Regions from separate parts of the Homo sapiens genome. Here region 1 is linked to region 2. The links are contacts of gene promoters, found by promoter capture Hi-C in blood cells and fetal thymus (Javierre and others, 2016). All regions are on one chromosome and are shown on one strand. Each heading gives the region's core, a stretch centred on a gene start or on the middle of the fragment in contact. The rest is flanking DNA. Distances are from core to core; before and after follow the strand shown.

The links. The method cuts DNA at HindIII sites, captures the fragments that hold promoters and counts their contacts. A CHiCAGO score of 5 or more calls a contact.
Region 1: a fragment that was not itself captured here is called in contact with the fragment with the promoter of CD68 in region 2 in 2 of 17 cell types (total CD8 T cells and total B cells); the score reaches 6.3 in total CD8 T cells.

Annotation. Positions count from the first base shown.
Region 1 is chr17:7,379,225-7,382,913 of GRCh38, forward strand. TNK1 (tyrosine kinase non receptor 1) reads left to right here and starts at 1,865. Exons shown (of 13, transcript NM_003985.6): 1 at 1,865-1,890; 2 at 3,612-3,689. RefSeq lists an enhancer at 1,383-1,883. The HindIII fragment of the contact is 9,212 bases long and covers 1-3,689 here.
Region 2 is chr17:7,578,384-7,581,640 of GRCh38, forward strand. CD68 (CD68 molecule) reads left to right here and starts at 1,255. Exons shown (of 6, transcript NM_001251.3): 1 at 1,255-1,343; 2 at 1,427-1,944; 3 at 2,083-2,202; 4 at 2,328-2,400; 5 at 2,513-2,683; 6 at 2,995-3,257. The coding sequence starts at 1,295. The coding sequence ends at 3,128. EIF4A1 (eukaryotic translation initiation factor 4A1) reads left to right here. Exons shown (of 11, transcript NM_001416.4): 11 at 1-623. The coding sequence ends at 103. SENP3-EIF4A1 (SENP3-EIF4A1 readthrough (NMD candidate)) reads left to right here. Exons shown (of 22, transcript NR_037926.1): 22 at 1-623. RefSeq lists a silencer at 256-444 and enhancers at 1,920-1,979, 2,080-2,149. The HindIII fragment of the contact is 9,128 bases long and covers 1-3,257 here.

The DNA of each region.
Region 1 (3,689 bases), core at 945-3,444, 200 kb before region 2:
TGAGTATAACAACAACCAAAAAATAAAATTAAAAAACCCTTCCATGTAAGGATTAAACAGCACATCAGATGTAACCAAAGAGAGAATTAGTGAACTGGAAGACAGACTGGAAGAGATTACCTGAATGTATCACCAAGACACAAAGAGATGAAAGATACAGGAGACAGGTTAAAAGACACAGAGTACAGAATGAAAAGGTCTAGAACACTCCTAATCAGAGTTGGCAAAGGAGAGAGCACAGAGGACAGAGGAAAAATAATATCTGGATGGTTTCTGAGAACTTTCCAATATGATAAAATACGATAAAAGATGTGAATTCATACATACAGGAAGTACAACATATTGAGCAGAATAAATAGAATAAATAAACATCTAGATACATTGTGACAAAACTACAAAACACCAATGATATCTTAAAAGCAGGGAGTAAAAAGAGATCATCTACACAACAATGAGGATTAGACTGAGGAGACTTCTTTACAACCAACATGTATCAGGCCTATTATATGCCCACACTGTCCTAGGTACTTAGAACACAAGTATGAACAAGCCAGGCCCAGCCCCTACCCTGTGGAGCTACAGAACCTCTAACAGGGATCGCAGATGTGCAGTAACAATTATAGTGTGATGAGCGATCCTGGTTGGAGGGCAAAAGAATCGGCAAGAAAACAATACCATAGAACAGCATTATGAAGATTTTCCTATCCCACGTAGGATCCACACAGGGACTGGCCCCCAAGCACAGATCCTTGCTGGCAGCCTGAGAGTCACTCGGTCTAACTTGGTTTCAAGGCAACTCCACCAGCCTTTATTAAATAAGGCTCTGGGTCTCTGGGTACTGGCTGCCTGCTCACACTTTCCCTTACAGACATCTGGACCCCTCCCTTACCCCACATTATAAGCAAGGAGGAAGAAGAGGACCCGAGGCTGGGAAACGTGGAGGTGGCAGTTGGGATCAAACATCCTACATGTTTACCAAGACCAGGAGGGCTTTTCCCTCCAAGGGACCCTTGGGACAGCAGCTGCTATGTTCACGCGTCCTTCCTTGGGACAGGGGACAGACTAGATGTCCTAAGACTGGCAGCTTCCTCTCTGGGACCCCTGAGAGAAGCGGAGACAAATGGTCCTCCTCAGGGCCTTCTTCAAGGTCCTGGACTTAGTCCCAGTGGCCACAGGCTAGGTAGCAGTGTGCAGGGCCCTGAGTTCTGCAGAGCTTGCATGGAGAGCAGGCGTTACGCTGGAAGGAAGCCCAGGAGTGTCAGTAATGGGGAAGCGTGCCCTGAGGCATGGAATGCTGCCGGTGATCAACAACAGCTTCAACTGTAGACTCTGTCTAGGCCAGGGCCAACTCTCCGTACCAGCATCAACATCTCTCTGCCCTGGCCCCATTCCAGGGTTCATTAAGTAAAGCCTGCTAGGAAGCTCTGAACCCCCTGCCATGGGGCAGGAACTGTGTCCTATTTAGCCTTATATTCCCTGTGCGTGGACAGGATAGCTCTATCGGGCGCTTATTCATGTAAGAGGTAGGGTCCTGGCTGAGAGGTGAAGGATTTGGCGAGAGGGCATGGGGGACAGAGACAGAGGAGTGAAGTCTGGGGAGGGCTGGGAAGCTATTCGGAGAAGGCTGGAAAGACGTGAAGGAAGACGAGCAGAGGAGAAGGGAAGGGGGCTTCTCACAGTCGGGGCGATCTGGTCTGGAGGAGGGAGGGGCCGCCAGTCGCCCTGGGGACCGTCACCTTGTCCCACTAGGGAACTCGGGGTGCGGCCCTCGCCGGCCCCGGGCCAGCGGCCAGGTCCCCGCCCTCCGCGGGATTTACTCCTGTCCCGCCTCCTCGGATTTAGCCCAGGCAGCCTGGGAGGTTCCGCAGTCGCCGCTTCCGCCTTGACCAGGTGAGGGTCCGGACCGAGCAGGGGGCCCGGGCTGGGGAGAGCCGGCGGAGCAGCCGTCGCTGGGGGCGCGTCCGGGGGGCGCTGGGCCTGTCCTCTTCTCCTGCGTCCTTCCCTCCCGCAGCCGCGCTTCCTCCTGTCTCCCTTCTGCGCTCCCCGCTTCCCACCGAGCGCGCAGGGCCGGGTCCCCCAGGGTCCTGGGCTTTCTCCTTCCCAACCCAACCCTGTTCGCGCCCGGTTCTGAGTCCACCTGCGCGTTTCCAACTAGGCCCAGCCTCGATCCTCTTCTTCCTCCTTGCTTATAATGTAGGGGAAGGGACGGGTCCAGGAGTGTGCTAGGGAAAGTGTGAGCAGGCTGCCAGTACCCAGAGGCCCAGAGCCTTATTTAACAAAGGTTGGTGGAGTTGCCTTGAAGCCAAGTTAGACCGAGTGACTCAGGCTGCCAGCAGGCATCTGTGCCTGGGGCTGAGCTCAGGTAGGTGTGGGACTGTGTACCTGACAGCCTCAGTGGCTCCATAGGCAGCACCTAAGCCTAGCGGCCATCACAAGTGCCTGATTTGATTTCAAATGTTGCTGCCTCCGGTGGAGGAGAGGCAATGACTGTGGACCTCTTTTGGCTTGAGGGGTCCCTATGCCCCCATAGCTCAGGTATGCTGTGTGCACACTGTACCTCGATGTCTGTGTGTTGTGTTCATGTGGACCTTTGTGTCTTAGCCGTGTGGGGCAGTGTATCTAGGTGTTTGGAGGCAGTGAACTGCCATGTCCCATGGATGTGACACGTATGTACAAGGAACATCTCATGGAAGGACACAGATGAGCCTGGGCGTTTTGTGGCCGCATGCTGAAATGTCTCAGCGTTAAGACGACATATATCGGCCGGGCGCAGTGGCTCACGCCTGTAATCCCAGCACTTTGGGTGGCCGAGGCGGGCGGATCACGAGGTCAGGAGTTCAAGACCAGCCTGGCCAATATGGTGAAACCCCATCTCTACTAAAAATACAAAAAATAGCCGGGCATGGTGGCACGCGCCTGTAGTCCCAGCTACTTGGGAGGCTGAGGCAGAAGAATTGCTTGAACCCGGGAGGCGGAGGTTGCAGCGAGCTGAGATCACGCCACTGCATTCCAGCCTAGATGACAGAGCGAGACTCCGTCTCAAAAAAAAAAAAAAAGAGGACATGTATTTGGGAGTCTCGGCCATGTTTTGCAGTATATCTGTAGGTCTCAGTGTGTGTGTGTGGCAGCATGTGGGAGGCAGTGTACCTTCGTGTGTGTGCGTGCTCTACCTACATGTCTGAGGTATGGTGTGGTTGTCATATCTGAGCATCTCCAGTGTGTGTGGTAGGCAAACATGTCTCATGTTGGAGGAAGGGAGATGTCTCATGTTGGAGGAAGGGAGATGTCGTCTCAGGTGTGTATGAGTGAGTTTGTGCCACTGCGTAGCTCAGGTCTAAAAGGGCAGTGTTTCTGGGTGTCCGGGTGTGTGATGTGCCGTGATATTTCAGAGTCAGGATGGTAACATACCTGGAGTCTGTAGTAGGAGCAGGCAGTATGCTAAAATTGCAGGTGTGAGCAGGGCAGGTTACTCAGCGGTGAAGGGACAGAGTACCCGGATGCCTGGGCACGGGGAACATTCTATCTGGGATTTGTGTGCGTGAGTGGCAGGGATCCTGGCTGTCTCTGCTGTGTCCCTGCCTCTGTACCTGAGTGTTTCTAATGACTTGCAGGTGGAGCTGGAGACCTGGTCTCTCTAGGGCCTACCCTGAGCTCACCATCTGAAGGAGAGTGCCATCATCCTTAGGAAC
Region 2 (3,257 bases), core at 5-2,504:
TAACATGGTGACAGAAGAAGACAAGAGGACTCTTCGAGACATTGAGACCTTCTACAACACCTCCATTGAGGAAATGCCCCTCAATGTTGCTGACCTCATCTGAGGGGCTGTCCTGCCACCCAGCCCCAGCCAGGGCTCAATCTCTGGGGGCTGAGGAGCAGCAGGAGGGGGGAGGGAAGGGAGCCAAGGGATGGACATCTTGTCATTTTTTTTCTTTGAATAAATGTCACTTTTTGAGGCAAAAGAAGGAACCGTGAACATTTTAGACACCCTTTTCTTTGGGGTAGGCTCTTGCCCCAGGCGCCGGCTCTTCTCCCAAAAAAAAAAAAAAAACACTAATCCATTTCCCTAACCTAGTAACCTCCAGATCCCAGAGGCTCTCCTCACCTCAGCTGAGCTCCTTTGAAAGTGATTCAAGGGACTATGTCACTCAGCCTCATTTGCTGGACCAAATCTGGAGGGAGAACCCCTAAAACCCCTAAGTGAGGTTGCCCAGGGGGTTGTCCCCAGGTGGGGGGAAGCAGGGGAGAGAAAATGGTAGCCATTTTTACATTGTTTTGTATAGTATTTATTGATTCAGGAAACAAACACAAAATTCTGAATAAAATGACTTGGAAACTGCCTGTTTGGGCTTCTCATTTCTTACCTCCCCTTCCCTCTCCCACCTGCTACTGGGTGCATCTCTGCTCCCCCCTTCCCCAGCAGATGGTTACCTTTGGGCTGTTGCTTTCTTGTCACCATCTGAGTTCTCAGACGCTGGAAAGCCATGTTCTCGGCTCTGTGAATGACAATGCTGACTGGAGTGCTGCCCCTCTGTAAAGGGCTGGGTGTGGATGGTCACAAGCCCCTCACATGCCTCAGCCAAGAGGAAGTAGTACAGGGGTCAGCCCAGAGGTCCAGGGGAAAGGAGTGGAAACCGATTTCCCCACCAAGGGAGGGGCCTGTACCTCAGCTGTTCCCATAGCTACTTGCCACAACTGCCAAGCAAGTTTCGCTGAGTTTGACACATGGATCCCTGTGGATCAACTGCCCTAGGACTCCGTTTGCACCCATGTGACACTGTTGACTTTGCCCTGATGAAGCAGGGCCAACAGTCCCCTAACTTAATTACAAAAACTAATGACTAAGAGAGAGGTGGCTAGAGCTGAGGCCCCTGAGTCAGGCTGTGGGTGGGATCATCTCCAGTACAGGAAGTGAGACTTTCATTTCCTCCTTTCCAAGAGAGGGCTGAGGGAGCAGGGTTGAGCAACTGGTGCAGACAGCCTAGCTGGACTTTGGGTGAGGCGGTTCAGCCATGAGGCTGGCTGTGCTTTTCTCGGGGGCCCTGCTGGGGCTACTGGCAGGTAAGGAGGAAGGAGGCTGAGGGGAGGGGGCCCCTGGGAGGGAGCCTGCCCTGGGTTGCTAACCATCTCCTCTCTGCCAAAAGCCCAGGGGACAGGGAATGACTGTCCTCACAAAAAATCAGCTACTTTGCTGCCATCCTTCACGGTGACACCCACGGTTACAGAGAGCACTGGAACAACCAGCCACAGGACTACCAAGAGCCACAAAACCACCACTCACAGGACAACCACCACAGGCACCACCAGCCACGGACCCACGACTGCCACTCACAACCCCACCACCACCAGCCATGGAAACGTCACAGTTCATCCAACAAGCAATAGCACTGCCACCAGCCAGGGACCCTCAACTGCCACTCACAGTCCTGCCACCACTAGTCATGGAAATGCCACGGTTCATCCAACAAGCAACAGCACTGCCACCAGCCCAGGATTCACCAGTTCTGCCCACCCAGAACCACCTCCACCCTCTCCGAGTCCTAGCCCAACCTCCAAGGAGACCATTGGAGACTACACGTGGACCAATGGTTCCCAGCCCTGTGTCCACCTCCAAGCCCAGATTCAGATTCGAGTCATGTACACAACCCAGGGTGGAGGAGAGGTAAAGCTAAAACTGGGGGATGAGAGGGGAGGGAGGCAGGACTGGATATAGGCTCAGAGGGAAGAAGGAAGAGGGGACAGGGAACCTTGGCCGGCATCGCATGCAGTCTTGTGACCTTCCAGTCTTTAACTTCCGCAGGCCTGGGGCATCTCTGTACTGAACCCCAACAAAACCAAGGTCCAGGGAAGCTGTGAGGGTGCCCATCCCCACCTGCTTCTCTCATTCCCCTATGGACACCTCAGCTTTGGATTCATGCAGGTATAGCCATGACCTCAGTCTCACCCCTCACTCAGCCTCCCGGCGCCCCTCCCCTCCCAATCCCACACGCTACTCCTTCCTCTGTGGAGAGGGATACCACCTGCGCCTTCCTCTTCGCCCCACAGGACCTCCAGCAGAAGGTTGTCTACCTGAGCTACATGGCGGTGGAGTACAATGTGTCCTTCCCCCACGCAGCACGTAAGTAACCTCCTTCCCTTTCTCATTGCTACCACTAGACGCCAGGGTTCCTGAAAGGACTAAGCTGGGGCCAGGGAGGTGGATAGGATCTGACCCTTCCTCACTCCTCCAGAGTGGACATTCTCGGCTCAGAATGCATCCCTTCGAGATCTCCAAGCACCCCTGGGGCAGAGCTTCAGTTGCAGCAACTCGAGCATCATTCTTTCACCAGCTGTCCACCTCGACCTGCTCTCCCTGAGGCTCCAGGCTGCTCAGCTGCCCCACACAGGGGTCTTTGGGCAAAGTAAGACCTACCTACTCCTTCCCTCCTAGAATCCTCCCACTGCACTGAAAACCCCTTCCCCAGGCCCATAAGCCACTCATCTCTCTTCTTAACCCCCCAAATCTCGCTCTCCCAGCTTGTCATGGCTACAGGGCAGCTTTCTTTCCATCCTCTACAAGACTCTGCCAGTTTCCCCCTTTTATCACTGCTGAGTCACTGCGGTGAGCTCCTCACCAATCTCCTACTCCCCAGCATCCCCCCATTCCCTCCTCCCACCTTTATCCCAACCAGCACGTCACTGCAAATACCTACCTGCCCTATCCTTCCGCCAGGTTTCTCCTGCCCCAGTGACCGGTCCATCTTGCTGCCTCTCATCATCGGCCTGATCCTTCTTGGCCTCCTCGCCCTGGTGCTTATTGCTTTCTGCATCATCCGGAGACGCCCATCCGCCTACCAGGCCCTCTGAGCATTTGCTTCAAACCCCAGGGCACTGAGGGGGTTGGGGTGTGGTGGGGGGGTACCCTTATTTCCTCGACACGCAACTGGCTCAAAGACAATGTTATTTTCCTTCCCTTTCTTGAAGAACAAAAAGAAA